3 separate regions of the Homo sapiens genome follow, and regions 1 and 2 are each linked to region 3. Evidence: promoter capture Hi-C in 16 types of primary human blood cells and fetal thymus (Javierre and others, 2016). All regions are on one chromosome and are shown on one strand. The core of a region is centred on a gene start or on the middle of the fragment in contact, and the rest is flanking DNA. Distances in the headings are between cores, read along the strand shown.

Region 1 (2,700 bases), core at 75-2,574, 620 kb after region 3:
TGAGCCAGCTAAGCCCAGCCTAAACGCTAGCTCACAGACTCAGGGGGCAGATACATGGTTGTTGGTTAAGCCACAGAGCATTAGGGTGGTTATACAGCAAAAGCCAACTGACACATGTTCCTACTATATCCCATGGGATTCTCCTTTAGCTGGCTGGCCACCTTTTAGTTTTTGGCACATGTCAAGCCCTTTCTTGCGGGGCAAGGAGGGAGGGTATAAGCTACACACATGTGGAAATGCTCCAAAGCAGGGAGCTTGATTCACCTAGCTCCAAACCTCTCTCTTCCCCAAGCTTCTTCATCTCAGTAAACAGTCATGCCATTCACTGTGTTGCTCAAGCCAATAGCCTGGGAGCCATCTTTGATTTCTCTTTCCCCTCCCCATCTAATCCATCAGTACCAAGGCCCTTGGTACCTGCTGTCCCCTCTGCCTGGAAAGAACTTCCTGTAGCTGACTCCTCCTTTGGGGCTCAGCTCAAAGGTCATCTTCTTGGTGAGCCTTCCCCAAGCACCTTATCTAAGATTCCTCTGTACCCCTCCTTCTTCCTAGTTACTTTCACCCATGTTTACTGCCTGTTCACAATCTGTAAGCTATTACCTTGTTCTTTAACACATTTATTGATTGTCTATCTCTCATGCTAGCATATAATCTCCATGATCTCTTTCCTGCTTACTGCTGTGTCTTCTGTACCAAACACAAAGGATTTAACATAAAGTAAGCACTCAACACGTATTTTCTAAATAAATGAAAGAGGCAAGGAGTTAGGAGGAACATCAGGTAATAAGTAATGAATCCTAGTGTCTTGCTTGACGTCTTGGAATTCTTGGTTGGTTATTGTCCTCAGATGCTGAGAACACTCTGAGTTCTCAACAAAGATGGAATGCAATGGGGCTGAGGGCTGTGAAGAGCAGGTTAGAGGGCTTCTGGAAGGGAAGAGGCACTCACCTGCTGTATGGCGTTGAGCAGCGGGGAAAAGAGGTCAGTGTCATAGGTGGAGTGTTTGCCTTGCAGCACAGCCACCAGCCTTTCCAGGCCCATTCCTGTGTCCACATGCCGCTGGGGCAGGGGCTGCAGGCTTCCATCTGCCTCTCTGGCCAGGGAAGGTGTGCAAGGTGAGGCCCCACCCAGGATTACAGGTGTGAGACAGATGCCCAAGTGGAGTAGAGAAATGGGGGGGGGCCCAAGGGAGCTGACAGTGGGAGGAACCAGACAATCAGTATCTTCCCCTGCCACCCTGCAATAGCAGATGATGATGGCCTTGGGGTCCTGTCCTTCCTCATATAGGGCTATTTCCATTCTCACCCCTGCTTGGGCCCTTGCCTGGGCACCAGACATCCCATCTTGGGACAGAATTCTTTGCCCCTAGAAAGATATGTCAAGGCTAGAAGAAAATCTGAGATCATCAAGTTCAACTCGTTGATCATCAAGTTCAACAGAGAATAGCAGTGACTTGTTTAAGCTGTCACAGGCAAAGACTACAATTAAATCAGTTATTATCTATAAGGTGTTGAGAATTGTGCCTGACACACGGTAAGCACCGTTTACATGTTTGTTTTTATATGAAACAGATCAAAGTCTTCTAATTGCCACCTTTCCCACTTCTAGTCAGGGATTCTCATCCTGCTTCAGCACCCTATTACCTGTTGTGTTGCATGAAGACCAGGTTCCAAAGCTCTACCAGCTGGGGGGCTCCCACCCCACCAGCAAGGTCGTAGTGGATCTCAGTACAGGGCCCACAAGGGCCAGTATCCCCCATCTCCCAGAAGTTCTCTTGTGGTCCAAAGGAAAGCACACGGCTAGCAGGCACCCTGGGGAGAAAAGCAGGTGAGTGGTGGGAGACAGACAGACCCAGAAGCTGGGACTCTCTCTGCCATGAGAGCCCCTCCCTCAAGTCACAGCTCAGCAAGAGGAGGAACAGGGCTGACCCCACAATATCCTGGAATGAAATGCTAAGACTCTGAGGATTGGTGCTGGTAGTCTCCACTTTCCAGTCCTCCTGACCTCCAGGAATGAACATAAGAAGGGGGCTGACTTACCCTAAGCTCAGCCAGATGTCCCTGGTCTCCAGGTCTGGGTCCAGCCCTGCCTTGGGGTCACCATCAAAGTAGGAGATCCAGAGCCTTTCCTCAGGGATCCCATAGACCTGAGTCAGCAGTTCCCAGGCCATGTTACAAGCCTCCTCCTGCAGCAGAAACCAGCATGGGGTGGGGGGGGAAGACGGGTGAGAGGGAGACCCCACTGAAGTAATCAAGCCACATGAGTTTAGCTCCCGACTTAAGACAAAAGCATTTCTGCTGCCATCTTGTTCCCAGAATAAGCCATGAACCATTACTGCCTCTGAGTGTTTTCCTGCCCAGAAAGCTTCCCCCTTCTTCTAAGTCCTATCTTCTTTCAAGTCCCAGACCAAGTCCCACTTTCACATGAAATTCTCTGCCTACTCTAGCCTAGAGTGATCTTTAACTCCAGTAAGCACCTTAGCATTGCTGTTTGACCATTTATTCAAACAACAATTTTTGAGTGATCATTAGGCAGAAAGTACAGTCTCTGCCCTTCAGGGACTTACAATCCAATCAGGGAGGTGAGGTAATTCCTGTTACACCGGCTCAACTAGCACTTTGCCTCCACATCTGGTATGAGGCCCTGCCTAAGCAGACAGTACAATGGAAACAGGACAAATTGACTCCCTTCTTGGCTGATCAC
Region 2 (2,700 bases), core at 100-2,599, 650 kb after region 3:
GGCAGGCACAAAACAAGGTGGAGACAGTGGGAGTGGACCTGGGAGGGATACAAGGATGGGCAGCATATGCCATTTTTGCCTCATCATTCCTCTGATGAGAGATCTGCAGTGACTTCCTAGTCCATATTGGGTTAAACCTCATATTGAAGGAATTCCACTTCAACCTCACGTAATTCAGCCTTTTCCTTTCCTGTTCTGTAGAGTATAGGCATTCCACTCACAGAAGCTGCTGTCCTTACTCTGCATGTCTGTTTTATATATTACATAGGTTACACACATTTTAAAATCTTAGTCATTGATTTATGTTACTCAGAAATCCAAGTCCAAAGGGACTTTTGTGTTTCTGGGACAAGCGTCCTCCCAGGCCTCTCCCAGGCGGTCTGGCAGCCTAGGATGTAGCCCTGACAGCCTGGCCAGTACTGAGATGACAAACGGACCTGCTCATTGCTGAGGGCACATATAAGAAGGCTCTGGCACAGTGGTGAAAGCTTAGGCTCTGAATCTAAAGAGACTGGATTTAAACTCCAGCTTTGCCAGTTACGGTGGTGGGATGAGTTACTTCTGCCTTCTGAGTCTGTCTTTCCTCATTTGTAAACAGAGGATGATTCTACTAGCACTTCACTGTGGTTGGGATTAAATGAGATAAACAAATGTAAAGAGATGGGCAAAGCTATCAGGGGAACTCAGTCAGGGAAAGGACTGTGTTTTACTCACCTTTAAATTCTTGTACCTAGCACAGTGCCTGGAACATAGCAGGTGTCTGGTCATTGTTTCCTGGCCTGAACTGATGGGGAGGCCCTCTGGCTATTTGGGAGCTGGCCATGTTAGTCAGTTCTGAGGTAGCAAATGCTCTCTCTCCCCTATCTTTGCCAGGCTTCTTCTGCCTACCATTGAAGGGTTCTGACGGTGGCCGTGTGTCAGTAATCCACTCAACACCTATTTCCCTAGCGCTGTCTTTATACAAGGCTCTGTGATGCCCCTTACTTGAAGTCAACTGTAGACAATCTATGAGCGCATCCCGTTTTCCATACCTGGGTTTATACTGCCCTCTGGTGCACACTTATGGGACACGCGCGTTAAATGAGGGCTTCTGCTGGGTGACCTTTCCTTGACATTGGGGAAGAGAGGCTCCCCTATAGGGACAGCCTGCAGTGCTCTTTCGAGGAGAAGTGGTGTTTAAGACGCCCTCCTCACCCAGTTTAGCTTGTAGCTCTTGAGGCTTACCAAACTCGAGGCTTTTTTTTTTTTTTTACCAATGTCTCTGACCCTAGGCAATTAAATAATACCATCCTTCTAGGCTCAAGTTTCTTTCTCCAGCAGGCACTTTTTGTCCTGCCAAGACTCAAGAGGAATGGGGTAGAGTTTATTTGAGTTTATCTTTCTCCCTCTGCTGTCTGGTTTCCTCTAATCTCTGGGCTCTTGATTCTTATGGCTGCCCCAGCTGCTCTCAAGGGTCTGGGGTTGGGGGAGCCAGGGGAGAACCAGAACCAACGGTTCCTATCCAGTGCCTGGCCCCCTGCTTCCACCCCCGCCTCACTGTCTATCATTCCTTCCCAGAGACAAGCTCCCAGCTACTGAAAGCGAAGTGGGGTCCTTCAGGGAGAAGGAGCAAAGGGGAAGGGAGGGGGTTAAAGTTCAGCCCACCCTCCTCTGGCCTCACCATGAAACCTGCTAGAAGTATTTGTCCTTCATGATTAAGTTGAATAACATAAATTTGCTGATATGCAACTATGTTTCACCTACATAACCAGAAATTTTATATAGTTCAGTGGAAAACTTCACACGTAAACCCTGTGCGTGTTTGTGTTGGCCTGGAGCCCCAGGTTTCCTGAGCTCATTCAGACCCAGGAGAGCCAGGCTTGTGGAACATCAGGATCCCGGACTGTAAAGCTGAAAGGAGGGCCCTAAAGCTGGAGAAACAGTTGAGTTGACCTTAAGGACCTGGGACCACCGCCCCTCCCTGCATCAGGCCTCCATGTTCCTGCACAGGTGCTGCAGTAACCTCCAGGCTGGGCTTGGTTTGGGGTGCTCAGACAGGGGACGGCAAGGGAACACTGAGGAAGGCCTTCTTCTTGCCCAACTGTGCTCACCCTCCCGGCTATACAGGCAAGATTTTCTGGGACCTTCAGGAACCTCAGTCTTCTGGGGACATCTAGCATCCTCCCCTCGCCTCTGCTGCTGAACTCTGGTTGTGGGGCTGCTGTGCACAGGAAGCTTCAGGTGCCAATCCTGGGAAAACACTGGCTGTGCGTTGGGGCCAAGCTGATCAGAGGCAGCTCCACGGCCTTGAGAACACTTTAGCTGGCTCCAGTGCCTCGCCAAACCTTGGGCACAGCTGCCAGGGCAGGCCTGGTGCGACAGGCATCTAAAACTTGCCCAAGGAGTGAGGGCAAGGTGGCCTGGGAGGTTTTAAGCTGCAGAGTAAGGGAAGGCTTGTGAGTCACAGTTCACAGGACTCACTAAGGATGAGAAAGTTTCCCTTCTGTGATTCACTCGCCTGCCTTGCAAAATCACCTGACCAACAGATAGATCTTGATGTCTTGGAACCTGGTGGTTCAGGTTAGAAACCTGGACTCTTTCCTCCTAGGAGGATGCAAGCAAGAGAGGGAGGGGCTCAGCTCAGACCATTGTAATCATCCATCCACCCACCCACCCACTCACTCATTTATTCATTCATTAAATAAATGGTTATTGAGCATT
Region 3 (2,716 bases), core at 102-2,601:
GCAAATGCTCCACTTCCCTTACGGGCTAAATTCTTCAAACATACTTACTATTTCCATCTCTTCATCAACTATCTCTTTCATTTCTCCAAACTGGATTCCTTGTTTGCCACTCTATTGAAATTGCTGTTTGAAAGCTACAAAGAGACCTCTTCTGAGACAAATCCAATGGCCCCTTCATTAGGCCCTTTTTAGACTTTTCTGCTCCCTCTGACAACAATGATCACTCTTTTCCACTGGATACTTCTCAGCTTTCGTTAAAGGATATGCTGCCCAATACTATGCCAGATCCTCAAAAAACCCCACATCTCTTCTTTTGCACATCACTCATCCTTTCCTGCTTCCAGGAGTACACAAAGGAAGGCTATGTCCTAAAAGACCGTTTCACTCTCCGCCAGATTCCATCCTTTTGTGAGCCTGCTCAAGACACATCCTCTTTATGAAAACTTCCAACTGGGTTTGCCGTTTCCAGTAACTGAGTCTCCCTGTACTTCGTCACGTAAAAGGCTAACTTGCATTTATTGGAGTGTGTATATACATAATCTCATTAGAACCTAAGCTTTTCAGAAAAAGGGCTGTATTTTCTGTCTCCAGAATTCCTTCACAGCTTGAAGCATAGCACTTGGCATTCAGTAAACTCTCAGTTGATGCTCGAATCAGGCCGCTTTCCCAGATTAAGATTAATGAAAAGCTGAACTACCATCCTGCATTTGCCTATGTCTCAGCTATTCAATGGCCTTTCCACTTTGGCCTCCCCCTCACAGGGAGACTAGCGGCCCGGGGCAGAGAACGCCGCCATCAGATCACAGCATTTTGAGAAGGGAAAGTGGAAAGGGAGGCTCTGGGAGGGTACCCAGATGGCCTTCCTTCGTGATCCAGAGACTCTTTAATAAAAGAGACTGCGATTCGGAGAACATGGAAGGAAGAATTAACATGCAAACCCTTTCCGAAAACTTTTCTGAGCCCTAGGACAGGTTTAGTGTCTGCTCCTGCTAAGTAAGCAGGCTTTTCTCTCCGTCCTCCTCCGCCTTGTGAAGATACTCACAAGGGGCAGGAGATCAAGATAAGGCACCAGGGTGTGGAAGGGGCTTTTAAGCACGCCTGGGGAGCCGGTACCTCCAAAGTTTCAGAATCGGACGAAGGAAAGGTAGGAAGGAGCGCACCGGGGCTGGCGGAAGCAGTCTCTGCCGCTCTTCTTAATTTCAGGAGGTTGCTGGGACGCATGACTCACCTTCCCTGAACCCGCGAGCTGGAAGCCGAGACCAGCTGGTCGCTGCCGGGCCCGCTAGTAGCCCACGGAGAAGCCGCCCACAGCCGGACACCAGAGCCTTGAGGGCCGCCATCTTCAAAAACCTACCCTGACCTCTCGTCCATTTCCGCTTCCGGAACGTAGCGCCCGCCGCCGCAGTGGTGGGGCAGGAACGGCGGGGCGGGGTTGTAGTTCGCTTGCTCCTGTCACATCATTTCTCTCACCTGTCCGCTTTGGGATACGAAGAGAGGCTTCTGCGTCAAGCCTATATTTCGTGTTAAGGATCTAGGGGAGGTCTTCTAGCTCCTGTCTGCCAATGCCTACAAGTCTTCAAGGTTGCATTCGTTTCCTGGAAGGCTTCCTTAGGAAAATCGCACGCAACACCCCACCTATGTCTTTAAAGCTTTCTCTTCACTGCACGTGAGCTGTGGACTTTTAGCTTCTGTGACTGGGGCTAGACCTCTACGGGAGAGGCTGAAATGGTTAGGAACTCTGGCTCTGGAGTATCGGATATCAGGCAGACCTGGGATAGAATTGATACCCCCTTCTTCCCTGACCACTGCCACACTGATCTTTGATTTGCATATACTTAGACCTCTCTCTAGCCCCAGGGCCTTGATACAAGCTATTTCCTTTGTCTGCTCTTTAGCTGTCTAGTTAGCTTCTGCTTATTTCTTAGAGCTCACCTCAAACCTTATTTCCACAGTTTTGCTTGACTGCCCATTCTCAGCACCAGATGCCTCTCCATCTTAGTGCTTGGGACAATTTCAGTTTTATGTTTGTTTTGTATGTGTCTTCTCACCAGACTGTAAGCTCCATGAAGTCAGGAACATTGTTTTCTGTTGACTCGCACATCTCCAGCACTTAGAATAGTTCCTGACACATAATAAGAGTACAATATATACTTGTTGAATGAATGAGTAGAATCTATTTTATAGGGCCTAGGGGAGGACTAGACCCTGAAGATTAGATGTGATAAAACATAAGTGATCGGCCGGGTGTGGTGGCTCATGCCTGTAATCCCAGCACTTTGGGAGGCTGAGGCGGGTGGATTACCTGAGGTCAGGAGTTCAAGACCAGCCTGACCAACATGGTGAAACCCTATCTACTAAAAATACAAAAATTAGGTGGGTGTGGTGGCGGGCACCTGTAATCCCAGACACTTGGGAGGCTGAGGCAGGAGAATCGCTTGAACCCAGGAGGCGGAGGTTGCAGTGAGCCAAGATCACACCATTGCACTCCAGCCTGGGCGACAAGAGTGAAACTCCGTCTCAAAAACAAAACAAAACAAAACAAAACAAAACAAAAGGGCTCAATAAACATAAGCTAGTTAATAGAGCAGTTATGGAGATGACTCTTTTCACAAGTTGGACTCACTTGTGTTGTAAGGAAGCTTATGGTACCAAAGAGAAAATACAACTGCCAGTTTTTCCTCTTTCAGATTTGTGAGACGTATAGGATGTTCCTCTG

Evidence for each region. The method cuts DNA at HindIII sites, captures the fragments that hold promoters and counts their contacts. A CHiCAGO score of 5 or more calls a contact.
Region 1: a fragment that was not itself captured here is called in contact with the fragment with the promoter of MRPS18A in region 3 in 4 of 17 cell types (naive CD4 T cells, total B cells, naive B cells and 1 more); the score reaches 6.4 in naive CD4 T cells.
Region 2: a fragment that was not itself captured here is called in contact with the fragment with the promoter of MRPS18A in region 3 in 1 of 17 cell types (activated CD4 T cells); the score reaches 5.0 in activated CD4 T cells.

Annotation. Positions count from the first base shown.
Region 1 is chr6:44,309,354-44,312,053 of GRCh38, forward strand. It overlaps AARS2 (alanyl-tRNA synthetase 2, mitochondrial), which reads right to left. Exons shown (of 22, transcript NM_020745.4): 3 at 2,037-2,182; 4 at 1,641-1,808; 5 at 946-1,090. The region is part of intron 2 of LOC124901322 (a long non-coding RNA gene); the gene reads left to right. Among named protein-coding and RNA genes, the nearest start is that of AARS2, 2.6 kb to the right of the region's middle. The HindIII fragment of the contact is 2,069 bases long and covers 291-2,359 here.
Region 2 is chr6:44,337,657-44,340,356 of GRCh38, forward strand. No RefSeq gene overlaps it. Among named protein-coding and RNA genes, the nearest start is that of SPATS1, 3.6 kb to the right of the region's middle. The HindIII fragment of the contact is 1,726 bases long and covers 487-2,212 here.
Region 3 is chr6:43,686,440-43,689,155 of GRCh38, forward strand. It overlaps MRPS18A (mitochondrial ribosomal protein S18A), which reads right to left and starts at 1,352. Exons shown (of 6, transcript NM_018135.4): 1 at 1,229-1,352. The coding sequence starts at 1,340. It overlaps LOC124901320 (a long non-coding RNA gene), which reads left to right and starts at 2,523. Exons shown (of 2, transcript XR_007059586.1): 1 at 2,523-2,716. RefSeq lists enhancers at 1,106-1,165, 1,111-1,722. The HindIII fragment of the contact is 1,093 bases long and covers 555-1,647 here.